Linked DNA regions of Homo sapiens: all the other regions are linked to region 2. Evidence: promoter capture Hi-C in 16 types of primary human blood cells and fetal thymus (Javierre and others, 2016). All regions are on one chromosome and are shown on one strand. Each heading gives the region's core, a stretch centred on a gene start or on the middle of the fragment in contact. The rest is flanking DNA. Distances are from core to core; before and after follow the strand shown. Region 1 has its middle 8.6 kb from the start of MON2. Region 2 holds the start of SLC16A7 (solute carrier family 16 member 7). Region 3 overlaps TAFA2 (TAFA chemokine like family member 2). Region 4 overlaps TAFA2 (TAFA chemokine like family member 2). Region 5 has its middle 6.0 kb from the start of TAFA2.

What was found. The method cuts DNA at HindIII sites, captures the fragments that hold promoters and counts their contacts. A CHiCAGO score of 5 or more calls a contact.
Region 1: a contact is called between a fragment that was not itself captured here and the fragment with the promoter of SLC16A7 in region 2, in 2 of 17 cell types (total CD4 T cells and non-activated CD4 T cells). The highest score is 6.3, in total CD4 T cells.
Region 3: a fragment that was not itself captured here is called in contact with the fragment with the promoter of SLC16A7 in region 2 in 4 of 17 cell types (total CD4 T cells, monocytes, naive CD4 T cells and 1 more); the score reaches 10.9 in total CD4 T cells.
Region 4: a contact is called between a fragment that was not itself captured here and the fragment with the promoter of SLC16A7 in region 2, in 1 of 17 cell types (M0 macrophages). The highest score is 6.2, in M0 macrophages.
Region 5: a fragment that was not itself captured here is called in contact with the fragment with the promoter of SLC16A7 in region 2 in 1 of 17 cell types (non-activated CD4 T cells); the score reaches 5.9 in non-activated CD4 T cells.

Annotation. Positions count from the first base shown.
Region 1 is chr12:62,456,776-62,459,689 of GRCh38, forward strand. No RefSeq gene overlaps it. Among named protein-coding and RNA genes, the nearest start is that of MON2, 8.6 kb to the right of the region's middle. The HindIII fragment of the contact is 1,125 bases long and covers 875-1,999 here.
Region 2 is chr12:59,594,600-59,597,299 of GRCh38, forward strand. It overlaps SLC16A7 (solute carrier family 16 member 7), which reads left to right and starts at 1,430. Exons shown (of 6, transcript NM_001270623.2): 1 at 1,430-1,637. RefSeq lists a silencer at 1,359-1,428 and enhancers at 1,899-2,038, 2,089-2,238. The HindIII fragment of the contact is 11,642 bases long and covers 1-2,700 here.
Region 3 is chr12:62,179,683-62,182,397 of GRCh38, forward strand. The region is part of intron 1 of TAFA2 (TAFA chemokine like family member 2); the gene reads right to left. Among named protein-coding and RNA genes, the nearest start is that of TAFA2, 12 kb to the right of the region's middle. The HindIII fragment of the contact is 1,837 bases long and covers 448-2,284 here.
Region 4 is chr12:62,085,943-62,088,642 of GRCh38, forward strand. The region is part of intron 1 of TAFA2 (TAFA chemokine like family member 2); the gene reads right to left. Among named protein-coding and RNA genes, the nearest start is that of TAFA2, 110 kb to the right of the region's middle. The HindIII fragment of the contact is 3,802 bases long and covers 1-2,700 here.
Region 5 is chr12:62,197,388-62,200,116 of GRCh38, forward strand. It overlaps a transcript of TAFA2 not described here. Among named protein-coding and RNA genes, the nearest start is that of TAFA2, 6.0 kb to the left of the region's middle. The HindIII fragment of the contact is 4,693 bases long and covers 1-2,729 here.

The DNA.
Region 1 (2,914 bases), core at 187-2,686, 2.9 Mb after region 2:
AAAATAGACTGGTCAAAGTTTCAAGGGTGCAGATAATAAAGAGACAAATCAGTCTCTGATTATAGTCACTGCTTAAAAAACATTGGGAAGGTTCATTTGGGCCTATTCCTGATTGACTGCATGGTGTCTGATTAGGTACCAGCTTTGTTAATGGGTTTGGTGTGGTACTGAGAGAGGCTATTCAAAAACATCATATAAACTGGTAAAGTGCCTCTCTCTTTGAAATCCATGAACAGGCTGGTAAAATTAAATCTATATAATGCAAACTCATGGCTCATGGCTTTTCAACTTAAACAACTTGAGAAAAGTTGAAAGTTAGAGAAGACTACCAGAAAGCACAAACCTTAAGATGAAGGAATGATGCAAAAAAACAATGAAAATTTCTGTCCCAAGACTTGGAATAAGGTTTGACTTTATAAAATTAAGGATTTCCTTTCAACAAAGGACTTTATGAAAAAAGTTAACAAACACATAGCAAATTAGGAGAAATCATTTATACTGTCTAATGCTAAAGAGGCACTGATACCTAGAACATATGATAAATGCTTCCAAATTAACAACAAGAAAATACAATAGAAATATGGACAAATGATAATGGGCAATTCACAGAAGAAGAAACCCAAATCTTAACACATACATGAAAACATGCACAAAATCATTAGTAATAAAATACAAATTAAAACAGTGAGATTTTATACCATTAGATTGACACACAGTAGAAAATCTAATTTTCCCAAGTGTTGGTGGAAATGTGGAGATACAGGGACCTAGTGCTGCTGGTGAAAGACCAGACATATTTGTCCATTCTGTAAAGCAATCTGGCAGTTCATAGTCTAAATATGTATATTATATACGTTCAAGAGAGGGATTCCTAAGCTTGTTTATGTGCCTTTAAATGTTTTTGAAGAATGCCCTCACTTAGCCATTTTTCTGCCCCGAAAGAGTTCTGAGTAAGGCGAAATAAAGGCAATCCTGTTTTTCAGTCCTTTAGGGAACTCCCAGACATATTGCAGCTAACAAACACAATTCTTTGAAAGAAGGTCCACTCTATTTCATTCAGAACCAGATATCCCCAGCAGGAATGTAGATTGCCATCTAGAAGACCTGCTATTATTCTGGGAATGTGAGTGAGGCAAAGCTAAGTTAAATGCCACAAAGCTCTCCTGCTGGCTTAAGTCATTTTCTTAATTCAGTGTTCACTTGGTTGCTATAAACCTTTGACTATTTTCCAGATTCTGGAGAAGCGGATTCTGACAGTTTTTGTTCATTTTTTGGTGTTTCTGTGAAGGGTAATGAGCCTTGGGAACTACCTACTCCACATTTTGACTGAGGTCTGGCCTTGCCAATAATTTTAAAAAATAAAACCAGATCCTCAAAAATGTCTTACAATAAAAAGATACAATAATCAGTACATAAATGTAGTGAAGGAAAACATTCACTGTCTACTCTTGGCTCTGTATTAAGACAATAAGGAGCTAATAATTTCTGTGCACCAGTCGTGTTCCAAACACTATGCTAGGAATTTTACATTGACTTCACTGATTTTTTTTTTTTTTTTTTTGAGACAGAGTCTTGCTCTGTCGCCCAGGCTGGAGTGTAGTGGTGCTATCTCGGCTCACTGCAACCTCTGCCTTCTGGGTTCAAGTGATTCTCCTGCCTCAGCCTCCTGAGTAGCTAGGATTACAGGGGTGCACCACCACACCCAGCTAATTTTTGTATTTTTTTGGTAGAGACAGGGTTTTGCCATGTTGGCCAGGCTGGTGGTGAACTCCTGACCTCATGATCCACCTGCCTCGGCCTCCCAAAGTGCTGGGATTACAGGCATGAGCCGCCATGCCAGGCGAATTCACTGATCTTAAGAATAATTATTGGTTGTGATTCAAACTTTATTTCAAAGATTTAAGACATTTACTTTTGGCAAACACCATATGCCATGTACAGTTGTTTTCACAATGGCTTAGTATTTTTACAGTTGTGGTCTTAAACTCCAAAGGCAGAAAGCTTATCTTAGTTGCAGCATTCCATTCACTCAACAAATATTTCTTGAGGTAAGGAAGCAGCTATTTGGGATAAGATGTACCGTGGCAGGTACATGATGGCACTCACTTCAAGATTTATTGAGTCTCCTCTGTGGGAACAAGTTGCCTAACATGTATATCCCAGTCCACTAGTGTTTTCCTTTGCTCAAATTCTTGCCTTGATAACTTTCTCTGTACCTTCGCTCCTCTGTGATCAAGAACAAGAATCCGTGTAACTGAAACAACTGTTTTAGTCTGTGTGTGTGTACACACACACAAACACACACCAGTTGCCAGGAATATAGCTATGAGTAACACAAGGGCCTTTCCACTGAAGAACTCGTAGTGTAGCAGGGAGACAGACAATGTTACAATTAAATAGAATATGTGTTATCATATAGGGATATGTACTGAGTAGTGCTATGACAAACCTAAAGTTCTTTCTTTCTAAACAAATAACCAATCTGAAAGGAAGGTTCCAATCAAGATGTTCAGAAAATAGGCCAGGCACGGTGGCTCATGCCTGTAATCCCAGCACTCTGGGAGGCTGAGGTGGGCGGAGCACCTGAGGTTGGGAGTTCAAGACCAGCCTGACCAATATGGAGAAACCCTGTCTCTACTAAAAATACAAAATTAGCCGGGCGTGGTGGCACATGCCCGTAATCCCAGCTACTAGGGAGGCTGAAGCAGGAGAATTGCTTGAACCTGGGAGGCGGAGGTTGCGGTGAGCTGAGATCACGCCATTGCACTCCAGCCTGTGCATCAAGGGTGAAACAACGTCTCAAAAAAAAAAAAGATGTTCAGAAAATAGATTAAGGAAAGAGACAGGCCTCTAACTTTATCAGATCTTCCCCTCCCTCCCTTTTTTTTTTTTTTTTTTTTTGAAACAGGGTTTC
Region 2 (2,700 bases), core at 180-2,679:
AGCAGGAAAAATATCAATAGCAAACACTCAAGACTATGACCTTGAAATGTGCCTTTATGTTGTTTCTTTTAAATGTTTAACTTTTTTTAATTAAATGAAGTGTTTATAGTCACTGCTAGACATTTCATCATTATCAAAGGCCTATTATGTCTTATACAAATGTCTATTTAAGCATTTTTAGCTTAAAAATATAAAATCCTTTCTGTAATTTTCTGCCTTTTTTTCATTTTCAAATATCATTCTTTCAATAAAATTATCTTCCAGTAATTTTGATGTTATTAATCACGATTATTTTTTCATCTTGTATTATGCCTACCAGCCACTTCATGTATATTATTTCACTTAAATCTTATGAAATCAACACGATTGATATTACTTTTATTTCATAGCTACAGAAATTGAAATTCAAATTTCGTCCATTACAACAGACTAGCTGTGGCAAAGACAATGTGAATTTACCCAAATGACTTAACTCTTTTTATAAATTCGTAAAATGTGAAGAATCATAGAACACACCTTAAAATGATTGTGAAATCAAGGAGGAGAAAGCTAGCTAAACTGGTAGACAAACTGCAATAGGACTTGTCAAGCCAAAACCTACAATTATTCTTTTGGATAGTTTCTTTTTCTCTAAAGTGGCAATTTAACTTAAAGATATTAAAGAAACCCAATCTATGGGGTTACTTAAATGTTCTCTTCCAGCCCTTCCTCTTTCCAGTTTTACCAAGAAGCACATTTTAGACAGGGGAAGAGACCAAACCAATGACAGCAGAATTACCATTATCTCTAGCACTATTCGTTGTCAAATAACTAAATGCTGGTTTGAAGAACTAAGTAATTTGAGAAATTAAAAATGAAAGGAATTATAAATGATTTGAAAAAAAATCCTTCTTATTTTTAATGTTTTTTGGTGCTGTTTTCTATGTCCTTCCTCCTATGGTGTCAATTATATTTTTTTCCGTGAAGTGATTTGGTTGGTGAGTCTAATCTCCAACAGTGCCCTACCTCTTTCTCCCAAAAAGGCCTCAGTTGAAAAATGGCTCAACACTTTCCCTGCAAGCTCACAATGAGGATCTCCTATTCTCCCTGCATTCGGCCAGACTCTTCTTTTTTTGCATGCTTTCCTCTCCCATGCTTGGGTTGCACAGAGCTACCGCACATCTGTCTTCTAGGTCAGGCTACAGAGTACTTCGGATACAGCAAGTTACGACCCATCTGGAAAGACAGATCTACCTGCCTTTTGGCTTTCTTCCTTGGTCAAAACTAAAATCCGAAGTGGAGTGCCCCGAGCGATAGAGAAAGTGCCTATAGCTTTGACAGCCGCTTGGAGCATGCTCAGTCGGTCTCCAGGCACCGGGAGGCGGCTCCCCCCCACCACCCCCCGGGCCGGCCTCCACCGCAGCCTGTCCGGCCCCCACCCCTGGCGCGCGCTCCTCCGCACCCACAAGGGCGTTCAGCAGCCGCGCCTCCCCTTCCCGCCACCGCCTCCTTCTCCGCTGGCTGTGGCGGGCGAGGACACGTCAGGGGCCATAAATAAATAAATAATTCCATTCACCCGTTGACAGCGAGGCGAATCGGCTGCGGTTTGCTGGGAACGGAGGGCTGCAGCGCCCACCCTGCGCCAGAGACCAGATAAAGTAAGTACAGCTGGGGAGGGAGGGGAGAGGAGGAGGAGGAGGAGGAGGTGCCGGCTAAGAGGAGGGCGAGCCTGCGTCTGCGACCCGAGCTGCCCGCGGAGCCGCACGCGTGTGTGCAAATAATGGCCAGCCTGTGACAAACGTGCCAACGCAGAGTTGGCCAGCGAGCCCTTATATAGACAAAAAAATCCCGAAGCGGCCGCGGGAGCAGAGCTCGCGTCAGCCAGTGCGCGCCGACAGCTGCCCGGGAACTGAGGGGGCGCGCGGGGTCCTGGGCAAGGAGCGCCTCGCGTGCTTTCGGCCAGGAGGTGCTCACGCTCTCGGCTTTTACACCGAGACTCAGCGTGGCGCGGTGCACCCCAGTCTCCCTGGCTCACGGGACTCCGAGGGCTGCTTCCAGTGCGGCGTGTCTCTAGTGCGCGCCCCGCCAGCATCCGGCCCCCGAGCCCCCTAGGGTGGCGTGGCTTCATTGCCGCAGAAGGTGGAGGCGGGGGTGGAGTGTGTGGAGAGAACGTCTTCTCTTTGAGCAGATGATCAGGACAGGAAGAGGCTGTGAGGGGAAGACGAAATACCGGGGGATGGGGGGGTTGTCTTTCTTCATTTTTGGTCCCCAGGAAGGATGGCAGGGGTGGAAGCAGATGGAAAACTATATGCGGGCGAGGCCTGAGCCCAGGCAGAAAGGGACCTCTGACTTGGCAAGGGTTCAGGAGGGCCTGAGCCTTCTGGTCTTGCTGGGCCACTGCACCACATTGGGGGCGCCAGGCCCGGTCAGGTGGCGCCACAGGCTGCGAGCCCGCTCACGTGCGAACTGCCTGTTTTCTCAGCGGATGCTGCATCGCGGCGCCCTTCTCCACCCCCTTTTCTCCTCTACTTCCGCGAAAAGGATTGCAGACTGCCTTGGAAAGGGCGGTCGTGCCCAGTGCCACTTTCCCGGTAGGGCTGAGGAGGGACTTCTGTAGTTCCAATTCCAGGGAAATTAAAATTTTACACACACACACACACACACACACACACACACACACACACACACACACGAGACATAGAAGAGGAAACGAGGAGTGGT
Region 3 (2,715 bases), core at 116-2,615, 2.6 Mb after region 2:
AATGGATTTATTCTTTTCTAACTTCTTACTTTTCTCAAAGGTCAAGGATTTCCTCTTTTTTTAGAGAGAAATCTAGAACAAACTTCCCTTCTGATCTTCTTTTCTCTCTTACTTTTACTCCATCTGGCTCCCTACCTGATAATTCTTCCTCGTTATATCCCACAAAATGCTAACCCTGCCACCTTCTCAATCCCTGACTGCCAGTTATTCAGTCTGCTTTTTTCTCTCAGTTCACTCCGGTCTGCCATACCATCTGCCCAGTGAACTTGATGCAGATTTCATAAAATGCAAAGTAAAATATTAGCTACAAACCCTGAAGTTCACCTTAAAGACTAGGTAATCAGCTGCTAGGAAAAGACAGTAAGCAAGGAAAATCATAGCTCACCCAGTTTTCCTAGTAGTGTAACATGGACTCTGCTCCAAGGTAAAATTCACCAATGTGCAGTAAGCTTGATTTCAATTCCATGTATTGATTTTAAATTTTTTTCAGTACTATACAGTACCTGAATTTTTTACGAATTTTCATATTTGGGATTGCATTGGGGAAGAAGAATAGATACATCTTTTTCAATAAGTACCACCGTAGCCATAGCTCAAAAATTAGATTGAGCTTAGAGCTTAGTTACACAAGTCTGAGTGTTTTGGGACAATACAAGGAAAAATCAGGTTCATTCCATTTAAAGCCTTTCTTGAGAATCATCAGAGAATCCCAAAAATATTATACTTCAAAGACTAAAGACATCATATTCAAGGGTTTTGAGAAAGTTTCTAAGTGTGTAGCAATGCTAATATATACAGTTATAATCTTTTAAAATACATGCAAAGAAAAAATATTCAACTTTTTTATAATCTAATAAACTGAACTTTTTCAGGTTTTATTAAACATATGTGTTTTTTAAATAATCAAGTACAGTCAAAGAGTTTTAATTTTGTGGAATCTTCTATGGTGGCAAGAATTTAGAAGCCTTACTTAACTCAGAAGGGTGAAAATGAAATCAATAAATATCTGAGCATATTAGCTATACTAAATAGCATTTAGAATTAGAATAGCCAAAAAAATTTAGTATCATTGAAGCCAAGAACAATGGTATCATGGTCAATAATGTTTCTGAAGTTAACAAAAAAAAAGCAAATCCCAGTTCATGATAAATTACAAAAATGGTAATTATGTAGATAAGAATAAATGGCTTTAAATTCCCTAATGAATGAGTCAAGTTACTGACAAGAGCAATCAAAATATATTCCATATGTGATTAACAACACTTAAATTTGACATTGACAAATATTATTTAATTTATACAACAGTAGAATCACAAGTGTATGTAGTCTCTAAGTCTCCAGGTTACAATAAATTATGGAAAGAATGAGAATTTCAGTCAGCATGCTTACTTTATTTTTGTCCTTGACCTTTTGCCTAGAATGTATTTGTTAATTCGGGTGTAGGTCAGAAAAACTGGTGCCCCCCGCCCCCTGAGTCTCTCTCTCACATACACACACGCGTGTGCACACACACATAATTAGAAATGACACTTCTTCACAGAATTCTCCCTTCGGCATTGAAGAAACATATAAAGCTACACTCTATCAATTTGTAACTATGTAACTACTGATCCCATCTTCCCATTAAGTTTATTAAGTACCTATTAGATGCCAGACACTATGCTAAACATTGAGAATCAATAGAAATGAGATATACATGGGTCTGCCTCACAGAGCTTACAGTCTAACAGATTCAGTGGAATGAATTGATATCATTCCTCTGCTATAAGCAAAGCTATTCTATATAGTAGAAACTTGTAAACACTTAGAAGAAAAAAACTGAGTAAGATTTAATAGCATGACTATTACGAACTATATTAATCATACAACTTGAAAGAAAACAAATTGCTTCACTCCCTCAGACTGACATGTCTAAATCTAATCTCAGTTTATAATTAATACACCAGCATAAGGAAACATAAGAACTTCCAGAGCATTGATAAAACTGATGACGAAATATTTCATCCAGTGAACTGAGCTTGTGACATGAGGTCCTAGACAGCAGTAGAATAGAGTCACGTACCTTAGCTATGACACCTTCTGACATTAGCCAAACTGGCTTAGGGTGAGAAAATCCTTCTAATATATGAAGATAAGAAGTTCAAACTTCCTAAATCATAAAGTATTATGTCTTCAATCCTATAGGAATCACTTATGGAAAGTTATTTAAGATTAACAGGGCAAAATTTACAAAAAGGAAGAGATATTCATTTTAAAATTGTAAGCCCAATAAATACACAAGGAAAGCTTCATCTTTTCTCAAGTCCATCCCCCCCCCGCTACACATAGTAGCTACTCAAGTAGAACAAAAACCTAGACATTATGGCCAAAATTTTGACATCTAAGCCCTAAAAGGAATAAGTCACTATTGAAATTCCAAAAATAATTTGGAGAACTAAAATTGACTTTGTATACTAGAATATATTGATATATAATATAATGTCTTAGTTATGAAATAAACATCTCTTCAAACTGTAGGATGTAAACCAAACTTGTATTAATATGTGAAAAACAATTTCTAATTTACGTATTGGAGGAAAAATATGTTCTCTAAATGGAAGGTTAAAAAACTAAGCAAAACACTTACAAATTCTGTGCTCCTATGAAAGAGCCTATGAGAAAAATGTTTGGAGTCAGTGACCAGGTTTGAGCTGCTTGCCACAGGGAGAAACCTGT
Region 4 (2,700 bases), core at 50-2,549, 2.5 Mb after region 2:
GCACTTCCCTACTCACTCTTTCTCTTTCTCTCCTGCCACCATGTGAAGAAGTTTCTTGCTTTCCCTTCTCCTTCTGCCATGATTGTAAGTTTCCTGAGGTCTCCCAAGAAGCAGAAGCATATACAGCCTGCAGAACCATGAGCGAATTGAAACTCTTTTCTTTACAAATTACCCAGTCTCAGGTGGTTCTTCATAGCATTATGAGAACGGACTAAGACAGTCTCAAAAAAACAAAACAAAACAAAACAAAAACAAAAAAAAAAACAGGAAAAAGCATCATGACATTGGATTTAGCAAGATTGTTTGGATATGACATCAAAAGCAGAGGCAACAGAAGAAAAAAATAGGTAATTTGGATTTCCTCAAGGTTAAAAACTTTTGTATGTCAGAGGACAGTATCAACAGAGTGAAAAGACAACCCATAAAATGAGACAAAATATTTGCCAATCATATACCTGATAAGGGAATAATATCCAGCATATATAAAGAACTCCTACAACTGAATAACAACAAACCAACCATCCAATTTAAAAACGGACAAAGACTTGAATAGAGATTTCTTCAAAGAATGTATACAAATGGGTAATAAGAATATAAAAAGATGCTTAACATCACTAATCATTAGAGAAATGCAAATCAAAACCACAATAAGATACCACTTCATACATATAAAGGATGGCTATTACCCAAAAAAGGGTAGGGGGTGGGGAATGAATGTTAGTGAGGATGTAGAGAAAATGAAATCTTGCTCATTGCTGGAGGGAAGGCAAAATGGTATTGCTACTATGGAAAACAGTATTAAAAATAGAATTACTATGTGATCCAGCAATTTCACATCTGGTTATATAACCAAGAGAGTTGGGAGCAAGGACTCAAGCAGTTATCTATACACCTATATTCATAGCAACACTATTCACAATAGCCAAAATGTAAAAGCTACCCAAGTGTCCACTAACAGATAAATGGATAAATAAAATGTGGTATATACATAAGATGGAATAATATTCAGACATAAAAAAGGAACCAATTCTGACACATGCTACAATATGGATTAACCTTGAGGATTTTAGGCTAAGTGAAATAAGCCAGTTACAAAATGACAAATACCGTATGATTCCATTTATAAGAGGCACTTAGAGTAGTCAAATTTGTTCATAGAGACAGAAAGTAGAATGGTGGTTGCCAGGAGCTGGGTGAAAGAGAGGAATGGGAAGTTAGTGCTTGGTGGGTGTAGAGTTATGGGACTGGGAAGCTGAAAAAAGTCATGGAGATGGATAGTCATGATGGTTATACAACAATGTGAATATACTTAATACCATTGAACTGTACACTTAAAATGGTTAAAATGGTAAATTTCAGATTATGTACACTTTACCACGGTAAAAACAAAGTATACAAAGATAATTTCAGGCAGTAAGAAGTGCTACAAAGAAACATTGTATCACTGAAAGTGACTGGAAGAAGCCCGAAAACTACATTAGAATGAGAGTACTCAGTGGAAATGACATTTGACTGAGGTCTGATTGACAAGAAAGAATCAGAAAGGTGAGACCTGGGGGACAAGCATTTGAAGCAGAGAGTATAGCAAATGCAAAGTCCTTGAAGCAGGGATGAGCTCTGCATGTTGAAGAAACAGAAAAAAGGCACACTAGAGTGGATCCTGGGAATGTAGATAAGGGATGACCTACAAGGGATAGGTAAGATGTGGTAGGCCAGGGAAGGAGCCTAGATTTTCTTCTAAGGACAATGTAAAACTTGGAGGATTTTTGAGCAGGAGAATTAAGTGATCTAATTTGTTTGTAAAAGATCACTTTGGCCACTGTGTAGGAAATGAATCATAAGAGGGCAAGAGTTGAAGCAGATCCATTAGGAGTTGTTCTAACAGTAGGGACGGTGGTGGCTTGGAATAGATGATAGCAGTCATGACAGAGAAAAATGGAGGCATTCAACATATGTTTTGAAGGTAAAGCCAACAAATCTTGCTGTTTTCATTATAAATAGGGTAATCATACATTCCCTGTTTCCCTGGGACAGAGCTGATTTCTGTCTGTTGTCCCAGTGCCCTGTATGGTTAGTATCTCTTTTATTCTCAACAGTATCCCAGTTTGAAGAATAAATCATATGGTTGCCCTAGCTATGAAGAACAAAGGAAAAATAAGAATCAAGGGTAACTCCTCAGCTTAAGGCAAATTTGTAGTATTGATGTTTCAAAGATGCACTATTAACAGTATTGTTAATGAAGGAAAAACAACAGAACTCCACATTTGTTTTATTCATGAGTCCTTTTTGTCCATAGTCACTTAACAATCTCACATTCCTCTTTCCATCCCAATTCAGTAGCTATGTAAATGTACTAAAACTTCAGAAGAAAAAAAAAAACAAGGCAAATTGAATTAGCCAACTAAAAGACAGTTCAAGTAATTGATCAAGAAATACAAGAGAAAAGGAGCAATTCCCAGGAGACAGCAGCACGTACAGGAGTAGCTCTTAGGCTGTCCCCGGTCCTTCTGCTCAGACAGAGACAAAGAACATGGAACCGGGTCTTTGGTCTGCTAACACTGTGGTAGAAGGAGCTTTATCCTGGATCCTGGACCAGGGAAGATTTTATGCTACGAAGAGATAGAAAAGAAGACTCTCGGGGAAACAGCCCTGTAGAGGGCCTGGACCACATTAAAAAAAAAAAAAAAAAAAGACACTGGA
Region 5 (2,729 bases), core at 146-2,645, 2.6 Mb after region 2:
TCGCTAAAAATCACTTTGGTGCACTTCAGGCTTTTTCTTTTTTGCCTTTTATAGAAAATTACTTTATTGAAGTATAATTGATATACAATCAACTGCATGTATTTAAAGTGTACAATTTGATGAGTTTTGACACATGGGTATATCTGTGAAACTACCACCAGTCAAAATACCAAATGTTTCCATTCCCCCAAAAGTTACCTCATGCCCATTTATAATCCATATCTTCTTCCAGTCCTGTCTCTAGCATCCACTGATCTAGTTTCTGTCACTATAGTTTGCATTTTCCACAGTTTATATAAATTGAATAGTATTTTATGTGTTCTTTTTTTGTCAGGCTTCTTCCCATTGGAATAATTATTTTCAGATCATCTGTGTTGTTGTACATAGCAATAGGTCATTCTTTTTTACTTCCAAGTAGTATTTCACATTGTAGATATACCACAATTTCTTTAACCATTCACCTCTTAATGAACATTTGGGTTACTTCTAGTTTGGGGATATTAAAAATAAAGCTGCTATGAACATTTGTGAAGAAGGCTTTGAGTGAACCTATGTTTTCATTGCTCTTGGGTTACTACCTAGAAATGAAATGGCTGGATCATATGGTAGGGTATGTTTAACTTAAAAACAAGAAGTATTTTCTAAAGTGTCTGTGCCATTTTGTATTCCCATCTGCTGTGGTGGAGAGCTTTTGGAGCACTTCTAGCTTTCTACAAAAGGCTTTGTATTATATCCAAACTCCTTACCTCAAATCCCCACAACATCTCATAAAGCAGACGATATAAACCCACTTATCACATGAAAAAAAAAATGAGACAATCTACCTGTTATTATATATTGGAGCTGAGATTCAAACCAGATCTATCTAAAGTCAGAGCCAGTCATTGATTTTTTGTTTGGCTTGGTTTTGTTCTTGTTTTTGTTTTCCCAGCCTCCTCTCTTTCTGCCTCCAACCCCTGTATCACAGGGAGATCAAACTCATTTGGATCTGGATATGGAAAAGGCTTTAGCCAGAGAACCTGGGTTCATTAGTAAGAATAAAGAGAAGAGATTAGTAAGAGAGATAGAATAAGGAGAAAAATTAGCTCTGGCTCCCCGCAGTGTTCTGCAAGATACGGTATTATAACAATTAAATTAAAACTTACGAGTCCCAGTTCATAGTTCTTAGCTTGTAGGATTGCTACCTACAAGCCATTCATCCCCACTTGTCTCCTCTTATTTTATTTGATGTTAACCAAGTTATTTCTAACTTATGCAATAATGTGTCTCTCACTTATCTTTTAAATGTTTTTTAAAAACATTTACAGAATATTTTCATGTAATCAAGTGAATGGAAGGAAGCACAGAATTCATTCCACACAACCCAAGGTTACATGCATGTTATTAACTTATGCTATCCCCATCCCCTAGCATGGTACCTTACACACAATAAATACTCTATAAATACTTTGTGGTCAAAACTCAGGAAACCAAACAGGCCAACTGAATAGACACATGCCATGGAGATAAGTCAAGAAGACCATTTCACAAAGTGATGTGAGAAACAACTGAGGCAGGAAAACTGTCCTACATGTAGTAGGCAAATATAACAAACCACCCCAAAACTTAGTTACTTAAAGAAGAAACATTTATTTAGTTCACATTTCTGTGGATTGGCAATTTGTTTTTGGCTCATTCTTCCCGACTCGGTTGGGCTTACTCATGTGTCTGAAATCAACTGGCAGTGCATTGCCTCCGTCATTATCTGACAATTGGCTGATTGTAAGCTGGAGTACTGGGGATAAGTAGGCCACATGCCTTTTTATTTTATTTTACTTCATTTTGTTTTAAGTGCCTGGATACATGTGCAAGACGTCTAGGTTTGTTACATAGGTAAACATGTACCATTGTGGTTTGCTGCACCTATCAACCCATCACCTGGGTATTATACCCCCATGCATAAGCTATTTATTCTGATACTCTCCCTCCCCACACCCTGCCAACGCCATCAGGCCCCTGTGTGTGTTGTTTCCCTCCCTGTGTTCATGTGTTCACATTGTTCAGCTCCCACTTATAAATGAGAACATGCGGTGTTTGGTGTTCTGTTCCTGTGTTAGTTTGCTGAGGATAATGGCTTTGGGCTCCATCCATTTCCCTGCAAAGGACATGATCTCATTCCTTTTTACAGCTACATAGCATTCCATGGTGTGTGTGTGTGTATGTGTGTGTATATATATATATATGTATGTGTATATATATATAAAACATTGTCTTTATCGAGTCTATCACTAGTGGGAATTTGTGTGGATTCTATATCTTTGCTATTGTAAATAGTATTGCAATGAACATATACATGCATGTATCTTTATAATAGAATGATTGATGTTCCTTTGGGTATATACCCAGTAATGGCATTGCTGGGTCAAATGGTATTTCTGGTCCTAGGTCTCTGAGGAATCACCACATTGTCTTCCACAATGGTTGAACTAATTTACATTCCCACCAACAGTGTAAAAGTGTTTCTGTTTGTCCACAACCTCAACAGCATCTGTTGTTTCTTGCTTTTTAATAAACACTATTCTGATTGGTGTGAGATGATATCTCATTGTGGTGTTAATTTGCATTTCTCTAATGATCAGTGATGTTGAGTTTTTTTCACATGCTTGTTAGTTGCATATATGTCTTCTCTTGAGAAGTGTCTCTGTTCAAGTCCTTTGCCCACTTTTTAATAGGGTTGTTTGTTTTCTTCT